Linked DNA regions of Homo sapiens: regions 1, 2 and 4 are each linked to region 3. Evidence: promoter capture Hi-C in 16 types of primary human blood cells and fetal thymus (Javierre and others, 2016). All regions are on one chromosome and are shown on one strand. Each heading gives the region's core, a stretch centred on a gene start or on the middle of the fragment in contact. The rest is flanking DNA. Distances are from core to core; before and after follow the strand shown.

What was found. The method cuts DNA at HindIII sites, captures the fragments that hold promoters and counts their contacts. A CHiCAGO score of 5 or more calls a contact.
Region 1: a fragment that was not itself captured here is called in contact with the fragment with the promoter of PRKDC in region 3 in 1 of 17 cell types (non-activated CD4 T cells); the score reaches 6.0 in non-activated CD4 T cells.
Region 2: a fragment that was not itself captured here is called in contact with the fragment with the promoter of PRKDC in region 3 in 1 of 17 cell types (naive CD8 T cells); the score reaches 5.3 in naive CD8 T cells.
Region 4: a contact is called between the fragment with the promoter of ATP6V1H here and the fragment with the promoter of PRKDC in region 3, in 4 of 17 cell types (naive CD8 T cells, total CD8 T cells, activated CD4 T cells and 1 more). The highest score is 6.0, in naive CD8 T cells.

Annotation. Positions count from the first base shown.
Region 1 is chr8:55,767,291-55,770,593 of GRCh38, forward strand. The region is part of intron 1 of TMEM68 (transmembrane protein 68); the gene reads right to left. Among named protein-coding and RNA genes, the nearest start is that of TMEM68, 4.4 kb to the right of the region's middle. The HindIII fragment of the contact is 6,579 bases long and covers 1-3,303 here.
Region 2 is chr8:56,213,217-56,216,784 of GRCh38, forward strand. CHCHD7 (coiled-coil-helix-coiled-coil-helix domain containing 7) reads left to right here. Exons shown (of 4, transcript NM_001011671.3): 2 at 1,382-1,451; 3 at 3,217-3,315. The coding sequence starts at 1,398. Among named protein-coding and RNA genes, the nearest start is that of CHCHD7, 3.2 kb to the left of the region's middle. RefSeq lists an enhancer at 322-821. The HindIII fragment of the contact is 230 bases long and covers 1,917-2,146 here.
Region 3 is chr8:47,958,313-47,961,909 of GRCh38, forward strand. PRKDC (protein kinase, DNA-activated, catalytic subunit) reads right to left here and starts at 1,824. Exons shown (of 86, transcript NM_006904.7): 1 at 1,661-1,824. The coding sequence starts at 1,814. MCM4 (minichromosome maintenance complex component 4) reads left to right here and starts at 2,629. Exons shown (of 17, transcript NM_182746.3): 1 at 2,629-2,702; 2 at 2,819-2,902; 3 at 3,204-3,368. The coding sequence starts at 2,833. RefSeq lists an enhancer at 1,293-1,452 and silencers at 1,633-1,682, 1,693-1,992, 2,663-3,062. The HindIII fragment of the contact is 8,899 bases long and covers 158-3,597 here.
Region 4 is chr8:53,841,115-53,844,569 of GRCh38, forward strand. It overlaps ATP6V1H (ATPase H+ transporting V1 subunit H), which reads right to left and starts at 2,131. Exons shown (of 14, transcript NM_015941.4): 1 at 1,920-2,131; 2 at 464-611. The coding sequence starts at 576. RefSeq lists an enhancer at 2,080-2,219 and a silencer at 2,290-2,439. The HindIII fragment of the contact is 7,596 bases long and covers 1-3,455 here.

The DNA of each region.
Region 1 (3,303 bases), core at 96-2,595, 7.8 Mb after region 3:
TATAAGCATCTAAGCATAGTTAATGCTTATCACATATAAGCATTAACTATTGCTATCATCATTATTATTCGCTTGCTTGTGAAAAAATAAGAGTTGCAGGAAGAACAGGTTTGAGGGTGGGATGGAGATCAGGAATTCCATTTTAAACATGTTAAGTTTAAGATGTCTATTGGACATCCAAGTGAAGACATTAAGTAGGCAGCCGGACATCAGCAGTTTAGCAGGAAGATCAGGAGGAGGATACAGGGTATAAGTGGATGGCCCTGATATAAATCTAGGAATTGGTAGCATATAGACAATATTTAAAACCATGGAACTAGAGAAGATCCCTCCAGGGAACGAATATAGAGTAAAAAAGAATTTCTGGCCAGGCACAGTGGCTCACACCTGTAAACCCAGCACTTTGGGAGGCCGAGGCGGGAGGATCACCTGAGGTTAGGAGTTCGAGACCAGCCTGACCAACATGGAGAAACCCCGTCTCTACCAAAAATACAAAATTAGCCGGGCGTGGTGTCGCACGCCTATAGTCCCAACTACTTGGGAGGCTGAGGCAGGAGAATCGCTTGGACCTGGGAGGCGGAGGTGCAGTGAGCCGAGATCATGCCACTGCACTCCAGCCTGGGCAACAACAGCGAAACTCAGTCTCAAAAAAAAAAAAGAATTTCCAGGACTGAGTCTTGAGGCACCCAACATTTTAGAAGTTGGGAAGACAATGGCAAGCCAGCCTCCTCCTTGCAGAAGCAGTATCCTGGAAGTAAGAGCTTCAAGAAGGAAGGCATATTCTGCTGTTTTAAATGCTGTTGACAGGCCTAGTAAGGTAAGAGATCACTTCCTTCCTGTAGGAGACAGCTTTAAAAAAAAAAAAAAAATGATAATTGATCACTGGATTTTACAACACAAAGGAAACTGGCAAACCCTGGTAAGAGCTGTTTTTGTATAGTAGGAAACAAAACACTTTGGACAGGAGAGGACAGAAGCAGCTCCCCTTTACCCTTGAAGTTCAAGAATGAATGGGAGAAAATGAATTGGAAACAGCAAATATAAAAACTCACAAAGGAGGAAAGAAACAGGTGGGTATCTAGAAGGGAACACAGGTGAGTTGTTCCTTGCTGCTGCTGCTGCAGCTGTTGCTTTAAGACAGAGGCCAGGCATGGTAACTCACACCTGTAATCTCAGCACTTTGGGAGACTGAGGCAAGAGGATCGCTTGAAACCAGAAGTTCAAGACCAGCCAGGCAATATAGTAAAAACTCATCTCTAAAAAAAAAATTTAGGCCAGGTGCGGTGGCTCACACCTGTAATCCCAACACTTTGGGAGGCCAAGTAGGGGCAGATCACTTGAGGCCAGGAGTTCAAGACCAGCCTGGGCAACACAGTGAAACCCCATCTCTACTAAAAATGCAAAAATTAGCCAGGTGTGGTGATGCATTCCTGTAATCTCAGCTACTCGGGAGGCTGATGCACAAGAATGGCTTGAACCCAGGAGGTGGAGAGTGCAGTGAGCCGAGATCATGCCACTGCACTCCAGCCTGGACAACAGAGTGAGACTCTGCTCAAAAAGAAAAAAAAATTAAAAATTAGCCGGGCATGGTGACATGTACCAATGATCCCAGCCACTTGGGAGGCTGAAGGGGGAGGATCACTTGAGCCTGGGAGGTAGAAGCTGCAGTGAGTAATGATCAAGCCACTGCACTCCAGCCTCAGTGAAAGAGCAAGAGACTCTGTCTTTAAAAAAAAAAAAAAAAAAAAAAAGGGCCAGGCACAGTGGTTCATGCCTGTAATCCCAGCACTTTGGGAGGCCAAGGCGGGTGGATCACTTCAGGTCAGGAGTTTGAGACCAGCCTGGCCAACATGGTAATGCCGTCTCTACTAAAAACACAAAAATTAGCCAGGCATCATGGTGCATACCTGTAGTCTCAGCTACTTGGGAGGCTGAGGCACTAGAATTGCTTGAACCCGGGAGGCAGAGGTTATATAAGCCGAGATTCTGACAGTGCACTCCAGCCTCAGGGACAGAATGAGAATCCCATCTCAAAAAAAAAAAAAAAAAAAGATAGGAGAAAATACACCCATGTTCAATGTCAACGATAATTCATCAATGGGAGTGAGAAACAGATGATGTAGGAGAGGAGATAATTGTTAGAGCTCTGTCCTTGACTAGGCCAAAGGGGACAGGATACAATGTACAAGTGGATGGCCCTGAGAAGTTTGTGCCAGATACTATTCTAAATATATCAGTAAATAAAATAGTTATCTAAGAAAACATACGAAAAACACTTACTTTCTGGCACATAGTAGGCACCTAACAAATGCTGGCTAAATATACAACTGAACTGTGTTCGTCTAAAACTTTTTTTTTTTGAGACAGAGTCTCACTCTGTCACCCAGGCTGGACTGCAGTGGCTCGATTTCAGCTCACTGCAACCTCCACCTCCCAGGCTCAAGCAGTTCTCATACCTCAGCCTCCCGTGTAGCTGGGACTACAGGCAAGCACCACTGCACCCAGCTAATTTTTGTATTTTTAGTAGAGATGGGGTTTTGCCATGTTGGCCAGGCTTGTCTGGAACTCCTGGCCTCAAGTGATCCGCCCGCCTCCACCTTCCAAAGTGCTCGGATTGCAGGCGTGAGCCACCCTGCTTGGCCTCATCTAAATCTTTAACAGAAATCTGGATCAAAACAGTATCCTAAAACCTGCTACTAGAGAACTATCAGAGGAATTTGAATAAAATGCCTTTCAGTAGATAAAATGTAGCACTTACTTTTGATAATATGACAAAGTGTCTTTAAATCTCAATGCAACCCCTTAATTGTGCAGATAACAAAAAAAGTAAACACAGAAAGCCAAGTTTGCTTGCTTAAAATTACTAAATTAATTCAGTAAAAGCCAAGAACTAAAATTAAAATCTAGTCATCTTACCTCCTGGTCTGGCTTCCAACACACTTTCTTTGATATATCTCTCTTTTTCTCTCTTGACAGAAAGAAAATATTAAGATTGCAATTTCTGTCTTCCCTATACTTCTGCCTGGCCCTTCCCCTTCCCCCTGAATTTACCTGGGGGTGTAACTGACTTCTTATCACTTTATTTTAATCCAAGAAAAATGACATGGGCCAGGGTGGCTCACGCCTGTGATTCCAACAGTTTTCGAGGCCAAGGTGGAAGGACTGCTTGAGTTCAGGAGTTTGAGACCAGCCTGGGGGCAACATACTGAGACCTTGTCTCTACCAAAAAAAGGTTCGCCAGGCATGGTGGCACGTTCCTGTAAGTTGCAGCTACTTGGAAGGCCAAGGCAGGAGGACTGCTTG
Region 2 (3,568 bases), core at 782-3,281, 8.3 Mb after region 3:
TGTTGGCTGGTTATTTTCTTGTATTGTTCAATGAAAATCATAAAATTATTATTCAGTGATTACTTAATGGACACCAGAATAACCAAACCCTTTTCCATTCTTTTTTTTGCAAAGGCTGGTCTCCTTTGGCCTGGACGTCCTGATCTTTCCCATAGTAGAACTGGGCTGGGTGTCTCTTTTTTTTTTTTTTGAGACGGCGTCTTCCACTGCTGTCGCTTGGGCTGGAGTGCAGTGGCGCGATCTCGGCTCACTGCAACCTCTGCTTCCCAAGTTCAGGCGATTCTCTTGCCTCAGCCTCCTGAGTAGTTGGGATTACAGGCGCGTGCCACCACGCTCAGCTAATTTTTGTATTTTTAGTAGACAGGGGGTTTCACCATGTTGGCCAGGCTGGTCTTGAACTCCTGACCTCGTGATCCGCCCGACTCGGCCTCCTAAACTTTTGCAAAGCTGTATCTCTAGGAATTGAATTGGAAGATTACTGAAGCACAGTAGCATTCCCTGACTTCCTGCAACGCAGGGAAATAGTTAAAAAGAAGATGCCACTGGAAGTAAAATTTCAACTCTTTTGTTTTTGAAACAGTATAGCTTTTCATAATGTCAACTAAGCAATAACTTGGCTTTTTGGTGTGTTGGCTACCCTACTATTGGCCATAAAATAGGCACTCTGGTACTTCAGTTGATGAATGTTTTTGCTAAAGTTGGACTGTACCGAATTTCATTCTTATTTTGTACGCTAATTGGTGTAAAATAAGGAAGTAATTGTTGGAATGCATACTGTATTCTTAGGTTTTATTAGTACATTTGGTTGCTTAAACTTAAGAATAAGAGTAAACAACAACTGAATTATAATTGAACTATCTTTCTTTTTCGTTTTTTTGAGACAGGGTCTCTCTCTGTCACCCAGGCTGGAGTGCACTGGTGCAATCACAGCTCTCTGCAGCCTTGACTTCCTGGGCTATCCCACCTTACTTAGCCTTCCAAGTAGCTGGGACCACAGGCACACGGCACGACACCAGGCTAATTTTTGTATTTTTGGTAGAAATGGGGTTTCTCTGTGTCGCCTAGGTTGATCTCGAACTGCTGAGCTTAAGCAGCCCTCTCGCTCCAGCCTCCCAAAGTGCTGGGATTACAGGCGTGAGACACCGCACCCAGCCAGTAGATGCATTTCAATCCAATATATGGCCTTTGTGTTGAGGCATGGCAATACAAAGGAAAAACACGTTCAAGTTTTTATTCACAAAGTACAGAGAATACATGAAGTTCCTCACTAAGTGATCATTATGCCAAAATCAAAATTTCAGGTACTTTTAGTGCTATTGAGATGTATTGATTTATTTTCTGTCAACTACTGTATAATTATTTTTTTTCTGTCTACCCTCAGTAAGAAGACTGTTAGAATGCCCTCGGTAACACAGAGGCTGAGAGATCCTGACATAAATCCTTGTTTGTCGGTAGGATGGTTTGCTTTAATTTTCATGAGTGTTAAGTTGGAAAAACAGGCTGCTCTAGTTTTGTGGGCCTTTGTTTTCTGCAGTTGTTGAATAAAGTTATTTCTCTAGAAAAAATATTGTTGGCCAGCATATCCTATTTAACTAGAGCATTTTTAGATGTTTATAATTTCTCTAACAAACATTCATCTTTTCTTTAGTTTTCCTTATTTGTATAATATGCAAGCATTTGGTTGTCACTGTAAAACTAGACAGGAAAATGTAACACTGAGAATATTTAGTCCAAACATGGAAAACTGGAAGGTATGATATTTTTAAACTGTCACTGACATTTATTGTTTCACTAGCAATAATATCACCATGTCCTTGACAACCTGGCTGAGAGTAATGGGCTGATAATATAATTAGCCTATTTAAAGCTTAAAGGTTTTCACAAAGGTATCTGATAAACAAAATGTTTTAAGAGTAAGCTTTTATTGGCATTTATTTGGTATGATTTGCGATACTTACTTGTGGCTTTGCTACGTTTGAATAATGTAGTTATCATACTGGTCCCATGAAAATTATACTCTTTAGTTATATGCATTTTCCAAATATATACATTCATTAAATATTTGGCACAGAAATTCAGCTTTGTTCTGTTTACGTAGAACATGTTTCTTAGATATGTGTTGCAAACTGTCTACCCATATAGCTAAAGCTTTCCTTTAGATCTGTGTTCCCCAACCTTTTGGGCACCAAGGACCGGTTTTGTGGAAGACAATTTTTCCACGGATGGGGAAGGGGGCGGGCGTCAAAAGGCATTAGATTCTCCTAAGGAGCTTGCAGCCTAGATCCCTCACATGCACGCAGTTCACAATAGGGTTCGTGATATTAGATCCCACAATAGGGATCTAATAGCATTAGATGAGAATCTAATGCTGCCACTGATGTGACAGGAAGGGGAGCTCAGGCGGTAAGGCTCACTTGCCCATTGCTCATCTCCTGCTATCTGGCCGGGTTCCTAACAGACCGAAGACCAGTACCACTTTGTGGCCTGGGGGTTGGGGACCCCTGCTTTAGGTGACCTCACAGAATCATACCTTTCACTTTTAAGTTTGTTATTCAATCTACTTCCAGTTCACACAGCTTAAATTTAATCCCCATGTGGCACCTACTTTCCTTTGAATTTATAGCTTGTGTTGTTGACTTCGGTTTTGAAGTAATATCTATTAAAATTGCTTATATAATAGTGTATTTGTATAATGGAGTAAATGGTAGCCAAAAATGCATTGAGATGAATGGTGTTAATTTAGGTTGTCTTGTTGTAGACCAGTTATTAGTGATTTACTTGGAATCTTGAAACCAATATTATGATCAAACATTGAAGCCAAAGTGAAAATCTGGAAAAACAGGAGAGATGTACTGTGAGTCAGGAGATGGATTCTGATTCTAGTTGTGCAGTAGTCATTTAACACATTGCACCTTGCCTCAGTTTCTTACTAAAATGGTTACTGGATTAATTGATCACAGTTATTTGGCTCAAATTCCTGTGATCACATATTCAGAAAACTGGCCCACATTATAAAAAGGAAGATGTTAGCCTGAGCAGAGTGCATACTGGGATAGCTGGCGAGATTGTCCAGTTTTTATTAGTCTACCCATCAAAATGAACACAAATGAACTATTTCACATTATTTGCTTCTGGGGAAGCAGCTTTTGTTTGTTTGTTTGTTTGCTTTTAGATCCTGTTCTACCTTTTAAATGATGCCTCTCTTATATCTGTAAGGAATCTGATGCTTCCACCAGATGTCTGGATGAAAATAACTATGACAGGGAAAGGTGTTCCACTTACTTCTTGAGGTACAAAAACTGCCGGAGATTCTGGGTAAGCCTAGATTGGTTAGCTTTGTGTTAAAACCCATCTCCTAGGGTTGAAACTGAAGCCTAAAATTAGTCAGTACCCACAATCCTTTCCCACTGATGGCTGTAGGGAAACTTAACTTTTCAACTTTATCCTCTGTGTGCTACTTTAGCCGTGAAAGATCCTTGAGAGCTCTTGTTAGCTGCCTCGTCGTCCTCTAAGCTATAAGAATGCAGTTTTAATATAGGTGGGTCTTCTTAGACATTTAAGTATCTGC
Region 3 (3,597 bases), core at 574-3,073:
AGGCAATGGATCCTCCCCAAGAGCCTTCAGAAAGAAAGCAGCCCTGTCTGGTACTTTGGTTCTAGCTTGGTGAGACCTGTGTGGGATTCTGACTCACAGAATCCCCCTTACAGTGGGAACTGTAAGAGTAACAGACCTGTGCTGTTTTAAACCACTAAGCTTGTGGTAATTGTTACAGCAGCAATAAGGAACTAATACACTTCCCCTGGAATCTCTCAAGTGAAAGGAGATATGGCATAAATGGAAGGTAAACTTGGAAGTGCTTTAGAAACAAGTTACTAAACGAACAAAAATGAATTCTAAATTTGAAACCCTGAGAAGAGAAAGTAATCACGCAATGTTAGTTTTTTGTTTGATATTTCCCCATTGTTAATATATTCTTGACAACAGATAGAGTACATATAGGATACATGTATATAGCATCTTTTTTTTTTTTTTTTTGGGACGGAGTCGTGCTCTGTTGCCCAGGCTGGAGTGCAGTGGCACAATCTCGGCTCACTGCAATCTCCTTCTCCTGGGTTCAAGACATTCTCCTGTCTCAGCCTCCCGAATAGCTGGGACTACAGGCGCTCGCCACCATGCCCAGTTAATTTTTGTATTTTTAGTAGAGACAAGGTTTCACCATACTGGTCAGGTTGGTCTCCATCTCCTGACCTCAGGTGATCCAGCTGCCACAGCCTCCCAAAGTGCTGGGATTACAGGCATGAGCCACCGCACCGTGCCACATATAGCATCTAGTTTAAACTGTTTAAGTTATTCCTACACCATATTCACTACTAGACCCTCCGGAAGAAAATCTCACCTTTTAATAGGGCACAACATCAAGGTCTGCATACTCGTGTTTTAAAGAAGGAATACAGGAGATCCACATAATTAAGTATTTGAATATTTAAAATGCTAAAAAGAGGCACTTTTACTACAAAGGGGAAAAAGTTCCCACCCAGGCATTGCTAAAGAGTTAAAAGAACATGACTTCAATTACATTTCTTCAATTTTTCTCAAAGTAGGAACGGCAAATAGAGGGGTTTGGAAAAGGTACTGGTGGGATTAGGCGAGATTCAGGTGAAAGAAAATACTTTCTCTTGGCCGGGCCCGGTGGCTCACGTCTGTAATCCCAGCACTTTGGGAGGCCGAGGCGGGGGGATCACGAGGTCAGGAGTTCGAGACCAGCCTGACCAACATGGTGAAACCCCATCTCTACTAAAAATACAAAAAAATTAGCCGGGCGTGGTGGCGCGCGCCTGTAATCCCAGCTACTCGGGGGGCTGAGGCAGGAGAATAGCTTGAACCCGGGAGGCGGAGGTTGCAGTGAGCCGAGATCGCGCCACTTCACTCCAGCCTGGGCGACAGAGCGAGACTCCGTCTCAAAAAAAAAAAAAATTATTTCTCTTGCCCTGCCCCCCACTCTGCATAGCAATGATTGCCATATTAGGGGTCGTTTTCACCAACTTTGGCTTTAAAATATCTTTCCTCTAATACTAGGGGGTAAAAAGCAGTATGACAAATCCCTTTATACACATACACAGAAATTCCCCCAAGAATCTAATTGCTGTACTTCAAAATACCGTCATCTAAACACAGAGAAGCGCCGGGCTGCCCGGCTCCAGAACGACTCGGGAAGCCAGGACCCACCCGCGGCCCAGCTCGGGCCGGTACCCACCCAGCACCGCGGGGCTGCTGCTCAGGACGCATTCCTGCCCCAGGCCGCGGATCAGTTGATGACCGGCCAGGGCAGCACCGCAGCGGTCCGCAGCGGACAAGGTCTCCTGCAGCCGCAGCAGGGAGCAACGCACACCGGCTCCGGAGCCCGCCATGCCGCCGAGTCCCGCTCCCGCGCGTGCGCCCGCTCGGCCCGGACCCGGAAATGCCCCTACGCGCGGAGGCGGGGCTGCGGGGCGCGGCGGCAGGAACTTTCCCGGGGACCCCTGCGGGAAGGCCTGGCCAGTAAGCGCGCCTCTTTGGCCCGAATCAACATGGAAACCTAAGGAAAAACGTCTGACCTGCGGAGGTAGTTTGGGTGGCTACTTGGTGTTGGACTTGGCTAAATAAATACCAGAGGCAGATAAAACAAGCGAGGGGCCTAGGTCAAGAGTTCCAAGTTTGTTCCTCGATAAAAAACGACAAACGCGGTCGGGGGCGGTGATGCCCGCCTGCAGTCCCAACACTTTAGGAAGCTGAGGCGGGGGGATCGCAGGAGTTCGAGACCAGTCTGGGCAACATAATGAGACCATCCCCACCACCTCCCGTCCTTAATTTTTTTTAATAAAAAAAATCTTTAAGTGAGAAATGCATCTGTAATGTCCTTATTAACCAAAAACGCCTAAGGGATAAAGAAGCACACGCTCCCTAGCCAACGCTAGAGGAACACACCCCGAGAGCTGGTGCTGTAGGACCCAGTTTTCCCGCGAAAACGCTGCCGCGCAGGGGGTCAGACCATCTGGACCAAGGGGGGCCGAGCGAGGCCTACTTCTGGTTTACGCACGGGCGCTGAAAGAAGCGGCACTGTCCCCCCCTGCCGATGCGCAGTGGCGCCTCCCGGAGGCGGAGCCACGTACGAGCGCCGCTGTGATTGGTGAGGCCCCGCCAGGGGCGGAGACGACCTTGCCGCCGGCGGGAACTCTGGGTCTCGCGGTTTGGGAGCGCTACTCGCCAGGTGGACTCGGAGTCCGCGAGCGTCGTCGGCAAGCGGCCGCCTTTCCACGGTAACCGCGCGCCGGCGGGGAGGGCGTGGCGCGGAGCCGACGGGAACGTCCGCGCTGCGGAGCAGGGCAGGGAAGCCGGGAGGCGGGCCCGGCCCGAGCTTGTCCTTGTCGCGCAGGTACTCCGAGCACTATGTCGTCCCCGGCGTCGACCCCGAGCCGCCGCGGCAGCCGGCGTGGAAGGGCCACCCCCGCCCAGACGCGTGAGTCCCCCGAGCCGGGCCCACTACAGCCCCCGGCGCCGCCCCGTCTGCCCTCTCGCCGCAGCTGGCAGCGCTGGGTGGGTGCGCGGGACCCGGGCGCTCAGCCTCGGGCTGGGCGCTGCCGCTTGGTGCGCACAGACACCCACAGCAGGCTGTGGCCTGGGTGCTGCTTAATTCGATTGCCATTTGCCTCTGTTTGGTTTGGTTCAGTGGTGAGTCATAATGCCCCAAGGAAAAGACAAATCCAGGAAGGCCGGCCCTGAAAGTTAATGGCTGTCTTTTCTGTTTTGTGTGACACAAGCTCGGAGTGAGGATGCCAGGTCATCTCCCTCTCAGAGACGTAGAGGCGAGGATTCCACCTCCACGGGGGAGTTGCAGCCGATGCCAACCTCGCCTGGAGTGGACCTGCAGAGCCCTGCTGCGCAGGACGTGCTGTTTTCCAGCCCTCCCCAAATGCATTCTTCAGGTGCGTGTCTGAAGATCTTGGTTTTGCTGTGCTTGATACACAGCTGATGCTTTATCTGCTCAGGTTTACTGGCTTTATAACAGTTGGCATAACGCCTAAAGCATCCCCTCTGCACGTGACTGAGCATGTTCTTAACCAGAGGAGCTGAACGGAGTGCAGAAAATAGTAGTTTTAGGGCTTAGTGAGCAGAGGAAGCAGCTTCTCTGGTGCTTTTTTTTAATAGAACATT
Region 4 (3,455 bases), core at 881-3,380, 5.9 Mb after region 3:
CACCAAACTAATAGCAAGAACCAAAACTCAAATCCAAGTCTCTCAACTCAAATATCTGTGCTTCTTATTAGTTGTATGCACCACTCTAAAAAGGCCACCTGCCCCCATGCTGATTGCCAGGGCATATCAGACCAGTCTAGCAGGTTTTGCCCCTCATCCCCTTCCTCCCTCCGTTAGCCCAAGGACATTCCTCCTATGTTTCCCACTTATTCCAAAAGTACTTCCCCAGGCAGCCAGAGAAGGTCAAAAGCACCATAAGCCGCTCTGCTTCCCCACTAGGGCGCCAAGCTGTTTCCACCCCACTACACTTAACTCCCTAAGACAGCTAATTATTCTGAAGAGGAAGTGTTTCTTCCACATTTTTCAGTATTTTCCCTGTATTTCTCTCATAGAAGCATGACCATGAAAAAGTCTGATGCAAAAGCATATGACTGTCCATGATTCACAGCAAATTGGTACTTACTGAAGATAGGATTGCCAGTTGACTTTGTTTGCACGAACTTCTGCAGCCTTGGCAGCAATAATATTGGTGGGGACAGCAGCATCCACAGCACCTCGGATATCCATTTTGGTCATCTAAACTTCGTAATCTTGAATGTCTTTCAACAAATCTTCAATTTTGATGCAAGGTAAAAACAGAATACGAGGTGTTTCTTTTTTTTACAACTATTAATATTATGATTATGAATATCGTGATCACTTTAATCTCCCCAGGCATTCAACTCAAATATTAAATGTCCTAAGTCTGAAAGTATCATTATATTTCAAATATTGTCCACTGCTCCATAAAAGAGTTCTTTAGGCTTTTGCTTTTCTAGAAAAATTTTTTTCATTATTGGCACTAACACTGCAGTAAGATTTTTAAAGCAATCACCTAATATACTGAAATCAGAAATCATGATTAAATAGAATAGGTATAAATATGGGAAAAATTGTAAATTTATACAATTGTGGTTAACTTTTCTCATAGAGAAACAATAAGAATATGAATAGTACGGATAAGGCTAGTTTTATAAACATTTACTAAGCATCATTTTGAAGTGGCACATTAAAAATTCTAAGTCCTTTCGAAAATTACTCAAATTAAAATACACAAAGTGGGAACATAATTTCTTAGAAGACAGTGCTTTCCTTTTCAAACAAAATTCATAGTATTTGCAAAATCAAAATTCGGAGAGAAAGTTTTAGAACAAATACATATTACAATTTAGGTAAGCCAACAATGGCGGTCTGGCTGGACGACAAGAACCTACAATAATGAAATTCTATGTAATTCTCACTCCTAAACTTCCAGATACAAACGACTGATTTTAACACAAAGCAAAATACAGGTTGCCACTTGCAAAACATAAATTCACGGCCATGGCCACAAAGAAGTTAAAATCCTACCCAAAATTATATTCCGGGTTTCCAACGATCTTAATCAATTTGGAACTTAATCTCTGTATCTGAAGATTTGCTGTATAAACAACCCTGGGCAGCGCGAACGACAGGGCCCAGGAAAAAACAGGCTTCAACTGGGCCAGGCTGGAACTCTGCAGCCAAGGAGGCTCAGCCTCAGCGGCCCGTCCTGGCGTAGCTCAAGGTGTCTCTAGACAATTACCTAAGTCCCTGAACTACTCGCACCCCCAGCGATCCAGGGCCGTGGCCCAGTCCTGGAGAAGGTATACTTTTTACCCCTCCCCCTCCACTCTCCTGCCCGCCCCTGACGTTTCTTCCCCCTGCGAGAAAGGCTCCAGAATTTCGCTTAATAAACCTGGTTGAGGCCTGGAAGAAAAGCAATCTGGCAACCGGGGGCCGAAGAACAGGAGAGGACCAAGCGGCGAGACACCAGCACGCACCAGGCAAGCTGGAGAAACTGCAAGAGTCGCCTGACCTGGTCTGCAGCCTGAGACCAAACAACGCGAGGGCGGCCTTACCTCGCGAATCCTCGGGACCCCACAACGCACCCAAAGCCGGCAGGGAGGGTGGTCCGGGGCGCCGGGGACACAGCCGGGCTGGGGCGCCGCGTCAGAGCCAAGTAGGCGTCTCCTGTCAGGTCCAGAGGTCTGAGCAGTGGAGGGAGACTCCGGGAGCCGAAAGTGAAGCGGGTCCCGCACCAAGGAGACGTTGAGGGCCGCACAGGTAGAAGGAAGCCAGGGCGGCCGCAGTAGAATGACAGAGGCGCCGGTCACGTGATCGGAGGCACGTGACTGCTGCGGAAGGCGGAAGCCGGGAGACTCCAAAGCAGCAAGAGGAGGGGCGGGCGCTGCGGCGGGGCTTGTTCGGTGCGGACAACTGGATTCCCGAGTCCGTAACTTGGGCCCCGGAGCGACGCAAGGGTCGGGCCCCAGCCAGCCAGGGCAGGTGGGAGGCGGCGAGCGTGGCGGGCACGCTAAGACCCGCCGCCCCCAGACCTAGTGCCTCGCCTAGGGGAGGCCGAGGACCTCCGCCCGGAAGCAGCTAGCAGAGGCCAAAACGCTCTTATTGTAACCGTCATTCTTTTGAAAAGTTTGATTTCGCGCTTTCAAATTAATTTCCATTTGGATTTAACAGCTCCATGAAGCAGGCGTTCTTATTCTGATTTTAAATAGAAAACTCGGGCTGAGAAGTGGGTCTGAAAAGCTCTCTTAACCTAGGGTTGCACATTTAGCAAATAATAAATTCCATTGCAGTATTTACTTTTATACTAAAAAGTTATTCGTTGTTTATCTAAAATTCACATTTACAGGACGTCTGGTATTTTATCCAACAGTCCCATCTGGAGCCCAAATTTTCCCCTAGTCCAGGCCTCAGCAACTGTCTTTGCCTTAAAGTAAGAATGTACTGCCCTGGAGGTGAAGTATATATGATAGCATGTTTTCCTTAAAAAGCAATGAAAGGGGCCGGGCGCGGTGGCTCACTCCTGTAATCCCAGCACTTTGGGAGGCCGAGGCCAGTGGATCACCTGAGGTCTGGAGTTCGAGACCAGCTGACCAACATGGTGAAACCCCATCTCTACTAAAAATACAAAAAATTAGCTGGGTGTGGTGGCGCATGCCTGTAATCCCAGCTGCTTGGGAGGCTGAGGTAGGAAAATCACTTGAACCCAGGAGGCAGAGGTTGCAGTGAGCCAAGACCGCACCATTGTACTCCAGCCTGGGCAGAAAAAGCAAAACTCCGTCTCAAAAAGAAAAAAAAAAAATTCTTTGAAAGGGATTTATAACCAACCCATTTTTACTCGTAAAATTAAAGTCAGAATAATCAAAATCATGCATTGATTATGAATAAAGATATATAATAACAGTGTCAAAGATTGTACTAGGTCACTCATTCTGTCTTAGCCAGAAGTGAAAGTCTGTTGTTTTGAAAGCAAATCTAAGGGGAAAAACTTTCATAAAAGAGAAAAAGAAACCGATCGTGTACTAAGAAACTCCCAAAAGCTGAAACAGCATGTTTTCTGTGTAACTGAGCAAAGCTGGCAGTGAGGCCTGATC